Regions from separate parts of the Homo sapiens genome. Here region 2 is linked to region 1. The links are contacts of gene promoters, found by promoter capture Hi-C in human tissues and cell types (Jung and others, 2019). All regions are on one chromosome and are shown on one strand. Each heading gives the region's core, a stretch centred on a gene start or on the middle of the fragment in contact. The rest is flanking DNA. Distances are from core to core; before and after follow the strand shown.

What was found. Contacts are between HindIII fragments. The study calls those that stand out against the background at their distance.
Region 2: a fragment that was not itself captured here is called in contact with the fragment with the promoter of RET in region 1 in 1 of the 25 tissues and cell types used here (aorta).

What each region holds. Positions count from the first base shown.
Region 1 is chr10:43,073,905-43,080,393 of GRCh38, reverse strand. RET (ret proto-oncogene) reads right to left here and starts at 3,325. Exons shown (of 20, transcript NM_020975.6): 1 at 3,063-3,325. The coding sequence starts at 3,135. RefSeq lists enhancers at 1,980-2,970, 3,279-4,136, 4,002-4,268, 6,351-6,489 and promoters at 3,103-3,401, 3,103-3,786. The HindIII fragment of the contact is 24,069 bases long and covers 1-6,489 here.
Region 2 is chr10:42,616,970-42,623,458 of GRCh38, reverse strand. All of the region lies in intron 4 of ZNF33B (zinc finger protein 33B), which reads left to right. Among named protein-coding and RNA genes, the nearest start is that of ZNF33B, 18 kb to the left of the region's middle. The HindIII fragment of the contact is 6,117 bases long and covers 26-6,142 here.

The DNA.
Region 1 (6,489 bases), core at 2,076-4,575:
GGCACAGCACAGGGGCAGTGCACTGTGAGCCCCCATGGGGTGCTACTGCTGGTATTAGCCTTATCCAGTTAAGACGAGGGGACCTAGAGGGTCTTCGGCCAGGCTGCAGAGGGGGAAGGTCTCAGGGGAGATGGCAGCTTCCGGGCCTTCCCTTCCCCTTGGCACCCCAGGTTCCATTTTAACAGATATCATAATTTTTAATTGGTTTTCTCCTCCACTGGCTAAAAGGCTATTAGCTCCCCGCTAGGTGATCGCATCCCATTTTCTTCACACCACCAAGGAAACAGTGATTTCCTCAGCCTGTCCCTAAAGTGATTCTGCAGAAGAAAGGCAATTTAGTGAATCAGCTCAATGCACTTCCCCATTTGCTCTCTGCTTGCAGGCCCCCAGCAGGCACAGCCCACCAGTGAGGGCTGCAGGCAGCTTCTGGAGGCCAGACAGGGTTAGTGAGCTGGAGTGGAGGAGGAAGCAAGCCAGGCCCAGGTGAACCTGGTGAAGCCTCTGGCCAGAGAAAGGGGAGAAGGAAAAGGATGAAGCAGGGGGAGCTGTACCCCTGGCCTGAGCTGCCCGCGCTGATACCTGGTGCTTCAGGCAGGGGTGGGCTGCCTAGGCCCTCTGCAGAGGGTGGTCTGGCAGCTTGGATCCGGGCCCTGCCAAGTCACAGTGCCCAGCTCTTCCATGCTGGGAACAGAAGGCCCCGGGGCCCAGGGGCAGAGAGGGAATGTCCTTCCTTGCTGCAAAACAGGACCCAAGAAGTCAGGCCAGGAAGACAAGAGACAAGAGGCTTGCTGAGGAGCTGTGGGAGGTTGAGGTGCAGGGTCAGCCTGGGACCTGGGGGGAACCCCAGAAGCTGAGACTCAGTTTCCTCATCCAAGCAACGGGGACAGCTGTATCTGTGTTGAGCAATGAAATGCCAGAAACCTTTAAGAGCAACTTTTAAATGAATGTAACTTTTAGATGGAGGTTCTCTCACTCTGGTTCCAGCATACCTGGGGCTGACAGGCTATGCCCTGCAGGTATGAGGAGTGTGTGTCCCTATATACACACGTGGCGTCCCTGTGTGTATGAGTGATGAGAGGGGCTGGGGTCCCTGTGTGGACGTGGGTGAGGCAGGGTGTGAAGGAACCACGCTGTGCATGTCCACAGCCTTGGCAGCAAGTGCTGTGAGAAGGGGCAGGAGTGTGTCTTGGTGATCCAGTGTGAGTGTGCATGTGTGAGCTGTGGAAGAACCCTCATCCTCTAGAGACCCAGTCTGTGCCTGTCATCAGGCCCAGCCACTAAAGTGCAGCGTCCGCAAGAGGGCGCTTGAGGCCGAGCTGTCCCCTTGGGGTGGTTGGGGAGCACCGAGGGGCTCACTGGGGCGGTCCTTGGCAGCTCCAAGAGTGCGGCTCGAACCTCCGGAGCTGTGGCTCCTGGGAAAGAGCTCTGCAGCCTCTTCAAAGGCCCCAGCTGTCTACTCCAGGGAGTGGGGCTGCCTCTTCACTCCCAGTGCCTCCAACTGTGGTGTCCGGGTTATCCCAGGGGCTAGGGGCTCACCATCTCTGGATTCGGGAAGCTGTCTGTGGGCCAGGGGTCTGGGCACGGAAAGCTACCTGCATGCCTGCTGAGTGCCACAAGCCGGCCCCCAGAGCCTGGCCCCCACAGCCTCACTGGCCACCCCAACTGAACGCAAGGCTGTGGAAGGGTGTGGGGAAGTCCTCTGCCCAGCACACCAGCAGCAGTTCACACCTGGCCCCCTGCCCACAACCTCAAAGCCAAAGCCACAGCCCAGAATCCCAAGACAGCGTCAGAGCGCCTTGTTTGCTTCTGCCCCGTGTCTTCCCCCTGCAGCACTGGGACCCCAAAGTCCTAACACTCAGAAAAGATAGAAAGGCAAGGGCTTCTCCCCTGTCCCTCGCTAGGTGGACTGGGGACCCGCTCTGGCCTCAGCATATGCTGAGCTGAGGCGCAGGTCACACAAATGAAGTCTCAGGCAGGCCTGGAAACTCAGTTTGTGCAGGGCCTGGGGCCAGAGACAGGGTGACTGACCATGGCTTCTTCTGTTCCCAAAGGCTGTGGGGAGAGAAAGCCCTTTGTAAGGAGTGAGGGAGGATGGCCAGGGCTCCTTCCCTCTTAGAGGGAAACTTGGTTCATACACAAGCGCTTGGAGGGGATCAAGTCAGGGCCAGTTTGAGGGACACTTAAACGCGTGCCAAGGGGTCAAAGATTCCACAGCCTTGCGGCTCACTCTGCCAGAGTTTGGGTGGGGTCGATGACCATCTTTGCAAGGCCACACCTAATGCTGGGATCCTAAGGCACCTGAGGTTTCACCAGGCCCAGCACCAACGCTGGCTGGCGGCGCAAACCCCTGCCCCACCCCAAGCCCTGGGCCTCCTATGGCCGCATCTTCAGCATCTCTGCCAGGCAGCGCCACACGACTCCAGGGCTGCCGGGTGGGACGCCTATCACGGCGGCCCCTCGGGGGGAGCCACCCCAGAAACCACGGTTTTTAGGTGTTTAAAGACAGGGCGGCAAAAACGCACGAGGGAAAAGCAATCTTTTCAAAAGAGCCTCCGAATCCCTCGGCTGGCCAGGACGGCAGAGCTGGGGGAGGAACGCACGGACGCTGAGCGGGAAAAGGAAACCAGGACGGAGCCGTCTCCTGCCGAAACAGAACTCTCCGCACGAATCGCGGGCTTTCGGGGCTCCCTGACCCGTCCGCCAGGTCGGCCCCGAAACGGCTGTCCCGTTTGCTCCAGGACGCGGCTTTGGCGCAGGGCGCGGCCAGATTGAGACCTGCGGCTATGGCTAGGGTTCTGAGCACCGACCCCCGCGGCCCGGCCCGCGCTCCGCTCCCGCCCGAGACCCGCCCAGCCCCGGCCCGAGGCGCCCGGCCCGAGGCGTCCTGCCCTTCGCCCGCCGCCCGCCGCAGCCACTGCGCTCCCAGCCGAGGCCGGGTGGCCGGCGACCGCACAGCCCGCTGCCCACGGCAAACAGAAAGGCGCTTCTGAACGCGCCCGCTCCGCTGCTCGGCGCCAACTTCGCCCTGGCCCCTGCGGGAGCCGGCGGCCGGCAGAACTCACCTTTGCCTAGCAGCGGCAGCAGCAGCAGCAACAGCAGACGCAGCCCCGCGGCACCGGACGTCGCCTTCGCCATCGCCCGTGCGCGCTGGGGCCACGGCTGGAGGGACTGCGGCTAGGGCCGGCGGGTCTGGATGGCGGGTGCGGCGCTCAGTCTGGCCGCCCCATCCCCGCCCGGGGCGCGGCGGACGCGACGGACACTGGGGGCGCGACGCACGTTCCGGGGCACTCAGCGCTGCTGCGCGCCCTGCTTCGGTCGCGGGACTGAAGCGAGGTAAGCGCCGGCTGCGCCGGAGGAGCGGGTAGGGGCGGGGCGGGGCGGGGGCGGTCCAGGGGTGGGCCAGGCGGGGCCGGAGGCGGGTGGGGTGCGGGAAGGGGCGGGGCTCCAGTGCTTGCTCTGGCTGCGCGGGGTGCGGCCGGGGCGCGGCGCGTGTAGGAGCTCAGTGCGGGACGCGCGGCTTGGGCCGGGTGGGGCTTGGGGAGGAGCGGGGTGCGGGAGCGGGGTGCGGCCGAAAAGGGCCCGGCAGGAGCCGGGTGCGGACCCCGAGGTGCGCGGCGGGGATGGAACCCAGGAGCCCGGGTCCGCGCACCTACGCAGAGCCGCTCTTCCTACCCGGTGCGCGCCCGCTTGCAGTCCCTGCCTTTTGCCCTTTCCGCTGCACAGAGAGGGCAGGGATGCTACGCGGGATGCAGGTCTGGCCGACTGGCTCGGGGTGCGACCCCGCGGACTCAGAGAAGGGCGCCCCGCCTCCAGGCTCTCCGCGGAGCGCTTGCTGCGCCATTTCTCAGAGGCGAGAGGCGCAGTGGGAGCGCGGCCTCTGCTGGGGCCGGAGGCAGGAGGCGGGGAAGAGCTGAGCAGGGGAAGAGAGGCAGAATAGCCTTTTTCAGCATCCTGGGGTAGTAGAGAGGGTAGGGTCCTGGAAGGGCAGTTTGTGATTCCCCCCTCCAGCACTGGTCCAACCCTTGGAAACCGGAAACTGGCTCCGGCGTCCTTTCAGAGACCTGGTGCTGGTGGCCCTTGCATCCCTTACACAGGAGAACTCTCAGGAGATGGGCTGGCAGAGTCGGAGAGCGAGTAGCGAGGAGGAGGAAAGAATCCAATTTTCCCCCAAAGAAATGATGGAAATGATGCGCATAAACACATTTACCCCTAATAGGGAGCAGCAACTGGACCTGAGAAGGGGTTCTGGGTGAGGTTGGATGTGGGCTCAGTGGGGAAGTCCTCTGTTCTCGCCCCATCCCCGGCTGCTTTTTGAGGTCTGGCCTGCACTTAGGCGCAGAGGGATGGAAGAAGGGAAGCCCATGGGCCCTTGAGGAGGAAAAGCCAGGGAACCTGGGCCCAGGGCACCCTTGAGCCAGCCGCTCCCTTGCTTGCTGTGTGCAGAACCCCGCCCTCTTGCCTGGCTGAGCTCAGGGCTGAATAAGTGATCTGCACATCACTGCAGATATGAAGTCAAAGTGAAGTCACCCTCACAGGCAGGAGGGGGAGCTGCCAAGACAGAGGCTGGCTTGCACTCAGCCAACCGTGATGTCCAGACCTGGCTTGCTGAGGGGCAGGTGGCCGGGGCACAGGCCTGCCAGCCCAGGAGAGACACTGTGGGCCACTGGACTCCGGCTGCCTGCCACACCCTTCCAGTTTATGGAGCTAGAGTTGGCCACAAGGGGCTCCCTTGGGTTCAGACAGGTTCCATCTCTGGTGCCAGTGGCTACCTAGGCTACACACTCAGGCCTGTGCCCAGGGAAGGGACCTGATAGGTAGGGAGGGGCTGGGGGCATCTTTTGGCTACAGACAAGCTCCTGTGATTGCCTCCTAGGTGAATGAAGAGAGAAGTGGGTAGGCTTAAATAGCCCCACCCCTGCACCTCCCGGGGACCACCCTGGCCAGCCCTTGGCTGACATTGATGTCTGGCTGGGCTCTGTGTGGCCATCTTAAGGGGCCATCTGGGGCTGTGCTCCTGCCTAGCCTACCTTAGGCCTTTCCACGCTCTCGCTCCACCCTCACCCTTGGGGGTCCTGAGTGAACACCTGACACTATGAGAGGGTGTCATTTACTCCTTGGAAAAAGGTCTGGGGGGCCCTCACATGGGTGTACCCTGTACACATGCATACATGCATACACCTGTGTTCCCATACGTGGACACACACGCACACAGATGCATACCTCCCTGCTACGTGCACGCCCAGGGATCTGACCAAAGGGTCGCTCAGCAGAGGACAGTTGTGAGGCCCAGAGCCTGCTGGCCTCAGGGACTGCGGGGAAAGGAGATTCAGCCCTGCCTGGGTGTAGGCTCAGTATCCAGAACATCAGGCAGCAGGAAGGAGCTCCTTGCCCAGCAGAGGGGAAGCGAGGCCACCCCCTGAGGTCTCACAAGGGGAGGTGGGGGCCAGGTGAAGTGCAAAGCAGACGTGCCGGTCTTTGGCTGCCCAGGAGTCCTGGCCCTGGCTTCTCTCAGTCCATGGGGTGGGGAGGGCCTGCAGGGGGCTCTGCCTCTCTTTCTTGACTCCCCTTAGTCATCTCTCTGAGCCTCAGTTTCCCCAGCTATAAACATCTCCCTTTCAGAAGAAGGGGTGAAACTAGAAAGAGGGGTGCATGTGAGGGTAGAGCCCAGTGCCCGACAAACAGGAAGCCCTTAATAAGTTGTAGCCATTGGGCCTTCCTGGGCCTGGGCTCGGGCACCCTGGCCACACTGCCCTGCTGAGGGTCGCGGGCTCTCTGGGAGCTGGAGGAGGGCACATCACAGTGTGGTCAGTGCTTCCTGTCCCTGCCCGCAGGTCCCCTTGGAGAATCTTCAGGGCAGCTTTTATGAAGACACACATCCTGGGTCCCCCACTCCCTAAAAATCCATGTTAAAAAAAAAGTTCAGGGGCCAGGCTAAGGGCTCACACCTGTAATCCCAGTACTTTGGGAGGCCAAGGCAAGAAGATCACTTGAGGCCAGGAGTTCGAGACCAGCCTGGGCAGCACAGTGAGACGCTATCTCTAAGAAAAAAAAAAAAATTCCCCAAGAGGTTCTGGTGCAGGCATCTGCTTGGAGTGATTAGACCTGAGTTTGAATTTTGCCATTCATAGTTGTGTGACATTGCATACATTACTCCTCAGCTTCAGTTTTGTCATCTCTCAAATGGGGACTGAAACAGTGTCCTTCCCTGGTGACTGTGAGGAGATGGTATTTTCAAGGCTCTGCCCCAGTGCAGGGTAAGATGCTCAGTGGGCAGGCGGCTCACACCATCTTCCTGTAGCATGTGAGAACTTGGAGGTCATTCATTGCTTCTGAGCAGGTGAAGATTACCTGGAGCACCTCAGGTCTGACCCCAAAGCACCAAAACGCAGCACAGGGAAGGGAGGGAGGAGGGAAACCCATCATGGACAGAGATCTGGGCCATGCCTGTGCAGGTTTGCCTGGCGGGAGGCGGGCGGGATGCTCTGTGTC
Region 2 (6,489 bases), core at 1,835-4,334, 460 kb after region 1:
GTACACCTTTTGGCTGTTGTGAATAATGCTTCAGTGAACACTGGTATATCATTATCTGCTCAAAGTTCCTGTTTTCATTTCTTTTGGATATAAACCTAGGAGTAGAATTGTTTTATCAAAGTGTATTTCTTTTAGCTTTTTGGGGTACCACTGAATTATTTTTAATGTGTATATATACACAGATATTTGTTTTTGAGACAGAGTCTCACCGTCACCCAGGCCAGAGTGCAGTGGCACGATCTCGGCTCACCACAGCCTCTGCCTCCTGTGTTCAAGTGATTCTCCTGCCTCAGCTTCCCGAGTAGCTGGGACTACAGGCGCATGCCACAGTGCCCAGCTAATTTTTGTGGCTTTAGTAGAGACGGGGTTTCACCATGTTGGCCAGGCTTGTCTTGAACTCCTGACCTCAGGTGATCACCCACCTTGACCTCCCAAAGTGCTGGGATTACAGGCGTGAGCCACCGCACCCGGCCGTACCTACTCTTTCTTTTGTTGCTTATCCATTTTATGTCATAGTTAAGAATCCATCACCAAACCCAAAGTTTTCCTTATGTTTTCTTCTGAACATTTCTTCTAAACATTTTATTGTTTTAGCTCTTATTTTCAGTTCATTTTTGTGTATAGTCAAAGTAGGGATCTAACTTTATTTTCTAACTTTATTTTCATGTGGAAATCCAGTTAACCCAGCATCATTTTTTTGGTCATTTGTCATCATTTCAAACAGAAACTCTATCACCATTAAGCAGTAACTACTCATTCCCATTCCCACCAGCCTGTGGTAACCTCTAATCTATTTTGTCTGTGAGTATGACTGTTGTATCTCATGTCAGTAGCGTGACAATATTTGGCCTGCATTAACTGAAAGAAAAGGCTTTTCTTTCTCCCAGTGAATAGAATTGACGCCCTTGTCAAAAATCAGTTGACCATAGGCAGTGTATTTTTGGGCTCTCACTTGTATTCCGTTTGTCTGTATGTCTACACCTATGACATGACCCACTGTTTGGATTATTGTAGCTTTCTAATAAGTTGTGAAATTGGACGTTTTGAGTCCTCTGACTTTGTTCTTCTTTTTAAAAATTGTTTTCGCTATTCAGGGCCCTTATAATTCCACGTGACTTTAAGGATCAGCTTTTTATTTTGGTAAAAATGCTGATGGAATTTTGATAGGGATTGTGTTAAATCTGTAGATCATTTTGGATGGTATTAGCCTTTTAAAAATATGACATCTCTCAAACTGTGAACATGAGATACTGTTTCCTTTATTTATGCCTTCTTTAATATTTTTCATCAGTATTTTGTAGTTTTTAGTATACAAGTCTTGCACCTTCTTGGTTAACTTTATTTCTAGATAGTATTTTATTCTTTTAGATGGTGCTATAGGTAGAATTGTTTTCTTAATTTTCTTTTCAGATTGTTCTTTGCAGGTGTGTAGCAACACAACGGATTTTTGTGTGTTGATGTATCCTGCAACTTTGCAGAATTCATTCATTAGCTATAGTATCTTTCTTGTAGTTTCTTTATGATCTATCTTTAGGATTATGTCACCTGTGAGTAGGCATAGTTTTATGTCTTCCTTTGCAATGGATGCCTCTCTTTCTTTTTCTTGTTTGGCTGGAACTTCTACTGCAGTGTTAAATAGCACTGGCAAAAGTGGGTATTTTTGTCTTCTTCCTGATGTTAAGAGGAAAGCTTTCTTTCATCAGTGAATATGATGTAAAGCTGTGAATTTTCTATATGTGCCCTTTATCATGTTGAAGAAGTTCTATTCTGTTTTGTGTTTTCTGAATGTATTTGTCCTGAAAGGGGTTGGATTTTGTCAACTGCCTTTACTGCATCAACTGAGATGATCGTGTCCTTTTTTTACTTGTTTTATTAATGAAGTGTATTACATTCATTTTCTTTTCTTTTTTTTTTTAAAAACATTGATTTTCTTATGTTGAACCACACAGGCATTTCCAGGATAAGTCCCCCTTGGTCACTTGGTCATGGTGTATACTCCTCTTAATATACCATTAAATATATTTTACTGGTATTTGTGTGTGTGTGTATGTGTTTGTGTAGCTTTGTATCTGTATTCATACGCATCATTCATTCATTCATTTATTCATTTGCATTTGTATTTTTTTTTTAAAAGAGTCTCACTCTGTTGCCCAGACTGGAGTGCAGTGGCACAATTATGGCTCACTGTAGCCTCGAACTCCCAGGCTCAAGTGATCCTCCCCACTCATCCTCCTGAGGGGGCTATAGCTGTATACCACCATGCCCACTATGCCCAGCTATCTTTTTTTTTTTTTTTTTTGGTGGAAACAGGGTCTCACTATGTTGCTCATGCTGGTCTTGGACTCCTGGCATCAAGTGATCCACCTTGGCTTCCCAAACCTCTGGGATTACAGGTGCTATCTACCATGCCCAGCCTCAGTCTAAAACTATTAACTGTAAGAACTGTCAGTTTCTCCCTTGCATTCTGTGTTTGCTTTACATGTTTCAGGATGCTGCTTGGTACATATATAGTTATAATTTTTATATCTTATTGATGGAACGACCCTTTATTCATATATAGTATCCTTCTTTGTCTCTTGTAACAGCTTATGACTTAATCTATTTTGAGTGAAATTAGTATAGCCACCCCAGTTCTCTTTTGGTGGCTATTTTCATGGAATATCTTTTATCAGCCTTTCAGTTTTAATTTATTTGTGTCTTTGGATTTTAAGTCAGTTTGTTTTAGACAATGTGTAGTTTGATCATATTTTAAAAAAATCTATTCTGAAGCTGGGTGGTTGACACCTGTAATCCCAGCACTTTGGGAGGATCTCTTGAGCCCAGGCCTTGGAGACCAGCCTGGTCTACAAAGTGAGACTCCGTTTCTACAAAAAAAATTAAAAAAAAAAAAATAGTTGGGTGTGGTGGTGTGCGCTGTGGTTCCAGCTACTTGGGAGGCTGAGGCAGGAGGATCCCTTGAGCCCAGGAAGTCAAGGGTGCATTGAGTCCTGTTTGTGTCACTGCACTCCAGCCTGGGTGACAGAGCAAGACCCTGTCTAAAAAATAAATAAATCAATCAAATCCATTCTGCCAGCCTCTGTCTTCTGATTGGTGAGTTCAAGCAATTATCATTTAAAGTAATCACCAACAAGGAAACACTTCTGCCATATTGCATTTTGTTTTCTGTATATTGTATACCTTCTTTGGTCCCATATTCCCTTTATTACTGCCTTCTTTGTGTTTCATTTTTTTTTTTTTTTTTCAAGACCAAAGTCTTGCTCTGTTGCCCAGGCCAGAGTGTAGTGGTATGATCTTGGTTCACTGCAACCTCCTCCTCCTGGGTTCAAGCAATTCTCATGCCGCAGCCTCCCAAGTAGCTGGGACTACAGGCACGTGCCACCACACCCAGCTAATTTTTGTGTCTTTAGTAGAGATGGTGTTTTGCCATGTTGGCCAGGCTCGTCTTGAACTCCTGGCTTCAAGTGATCCACCCATTTCGGCCTCCCAAAGTGCTTGAGATTACAGGCATGAGCCGACCACACCTGGCCTGATTTTTATATTTTTATTATTTTATATTATATATTATTCCCTTCTCATTTCCTTCTGTGTACATTTTTAAGATATTGTCTTTGTAATTAAACATGAGGATTACTTTCACTTTCTAAATTCATGACAATCTAGTTTAAATTGATTCCCTCATAACTTCAATATCATATGAAAACCTTGCTTCTACCTAGCACCTTACTCATCCCCTTTATGTTGTCACAGATTATGTCTTTATACATTGTGTGCCCATAATGTAAATTTATATTTAGTTCTTATCCATTTGTCTTTTAAGTCCTGCAGGAAGTAAAAAAATGGAGTTACAAAGCAAACATAATGACCCTGGCTTTTATATTTGTCTATATAGTTAACTTTATTGGAAGTCTTTATTTTTTCCTCCAGATTTGAGTCTAGTTTCTTTTTATTTCATCTTGAAAGACACCTTTTAGTGTTCCCTGTATAGCAGGCCTAGTAGTAACAAACTCAGCATTTGTTTATCTGGGATTATCTTCATTTCTCTTTCATTTTGAAGGACAGTTTTACCAGCTAGAGAATTCTCAGATGATAGTGTTTTTCTTTCAGGAATTTATATATGTCATCCATCTGTCTTCAGGCCTTCAATTGATTTCTGCGGAGATATGAGCTCCTGATATTAATGAGGGTCTCTTGTAAAGTAAAAATGCCACAAAACTTTCCCACCATTTGAAGTCGCCTTTTTCCTGATTTAGCATTCACTTGGTTACTGTAAACCTTTAATTATTTTCCAGAGTTCTAACAAGGTTGGTTTTTATAGTTCTTTTTTTTTTTTTGGTGTTTCTGTGTGGGGACAGTTGGGAGCTGTGTACTCCACCATTTGATTATGTCACTCAACACTGTTAAGTGAATGGACCAGTTGTCCATTCGAGAACAACAACAAAATGAGATATGCAAAGAAACAGGAAAAATGTGACCCATGCACAGGACTATCAATAGGCAACACAATAATAACTGCCATTTTAGTTGGCAGAAACTGGGTTGTCTGGTGCAGATCAATGTATATTGTGTAATTTGAGGAAGAGCCAGTAAAATAATGAAAAATGAACAAAACCTTGGGAAACGGATATCATTAGGTGCACCAGCATACACAAACGGGAGTATCAATATGAGAGAATAGAAAGGGAAAGAAAAATTTTTTGAAGAATTCGCAGAAACGCCCATAATTTGTTGAAGAAAACTAATATATTCATCCAAGAAGCTCAGCAAACTCATAGGAGGATAAATGCAAAGAGACTTATACCCAGACACGTCATAATGAAAGATGTTTTTATCATGCTCTTATTTGACCTGCCTTATAAAAGTGATAATACAAGTGCTGGTGAAGATTTAGAGAAACTGAATTATTCATACATTTTTGATGGTAAGTAAAATGCTACAGTCATTCTAGAAAATAGTTTGTCAGTTCCATTTAAAACTAAAAACAAACTTAGCATGTGAACCACTAGTTACACTGTTAGACATTTATCCTTGAGAAATAAAAACTTAATGTTCCATCAAAAAAATTTTATAGCAGTTTTATGGGTCATAGCCCAAACCCGAATAATCCAGATGTTCTTGAATGGATAAATAATGTGTAGTGTGTCCATACCATGAAGTGTTACCCAGTATTAAAATGGAATGAATGACTAATACATGTAACATTATGGATGAATCTCAAGAGATTAAGCTGAGTTTTAAAAAACCCAATCTCAAAAATTTACATGTTTGTTCTGGTCCACCCCATAGAGTTGGGATGAACCCTCCTGCCCCCTACGCTTGGTTTAGGTATCAAAACTGGTAATGATATCAAGAGTGTAAAAAAGAGTTTATTACTTATACACACAGGTTTCTAGGGAGACCAGAGAAGGCTCCTAAGCAGGTCTAAATGTGGATTGAGAAAGAAGGGAGAAGAATGGCTGCTTGTCATTAGGAATTTGGGGTAGGGTGAGCACACACAAAAAGGATGGAGTTTGTGTGGTTTCAGTTTCCTACTGGCATTGAGGGAGGGACCACCTAGGCTTTATTATTGGCTTGCCCAAATGTAGGGTAAGAGGGGAGATGGGTGGGATTTGAAATCTATTAGCCAATTATCACAAATGCAGTTAGGCTGTTTATCATAATACCTCATGATCTGTTATTTGTGTAACAGTTTTGAAATGACAGCATAGAGATGGAGAACAGATTCGTGGTTGCCAGCGTTAGGAAGGCAGAGAGGGTGGGAGATGGCTGTAGTTACCATGTGTGGGATCCTGGTGATGGGACTGTTCTGTATCCCCAGTGTTGTGATTTTCACAAAAATCTATACCTGTGGCAAAATTTATAGAACTAAATATACACAACTAATGCATGTGAAACTTGTGAAATCTGAATAAGATTGATTGAATGAATCAATGTCAGTTTTTGGTTGATATTGGACTGTAGTTCTGCAAATTGTTACCATGGAGAAAACTGGGTGAGGGGTATACAGAATCTTCTCATTATTTCTTCCAGCTGCATGTCAATTCAAGAATTGCCTCCAGGCTGGGTGCGGTGGCAAATGCCTGTAATTTCAACACTTTGGGAGGCCAAGGTGGGTGGATCACTTGAGCTCAGGAGTTTGAGACCAACCTGGGCAACATGGTGAAACCCCATCTCTACAAAAAGTAAAGACATTAGCCAGGTGTGGTGGTGCGTGCCTGTGGTCCCAGCTACTTGGGAAGCTGAGGTGGGAGGATCGCTTAAGCCCAGGAGGTCAAGGCTGCAGTAAGCTGTGATGGCACCATTTGACTCCAGCCTGGGTGACAGAGTGAGACCTTGCCTCAAAAAAAAAAAAAAAAAAAAAAAAAAAAAGAGAAAAAATGAACAATTTTCTTCAAATAAAAAGTTTTGTAAATTGCTTACCAACTATAAATAATTCAGCTTCTTAATCTTTAATAAAGATAATAGACAGGCTGGGTGCGTTGGTTCATGCCT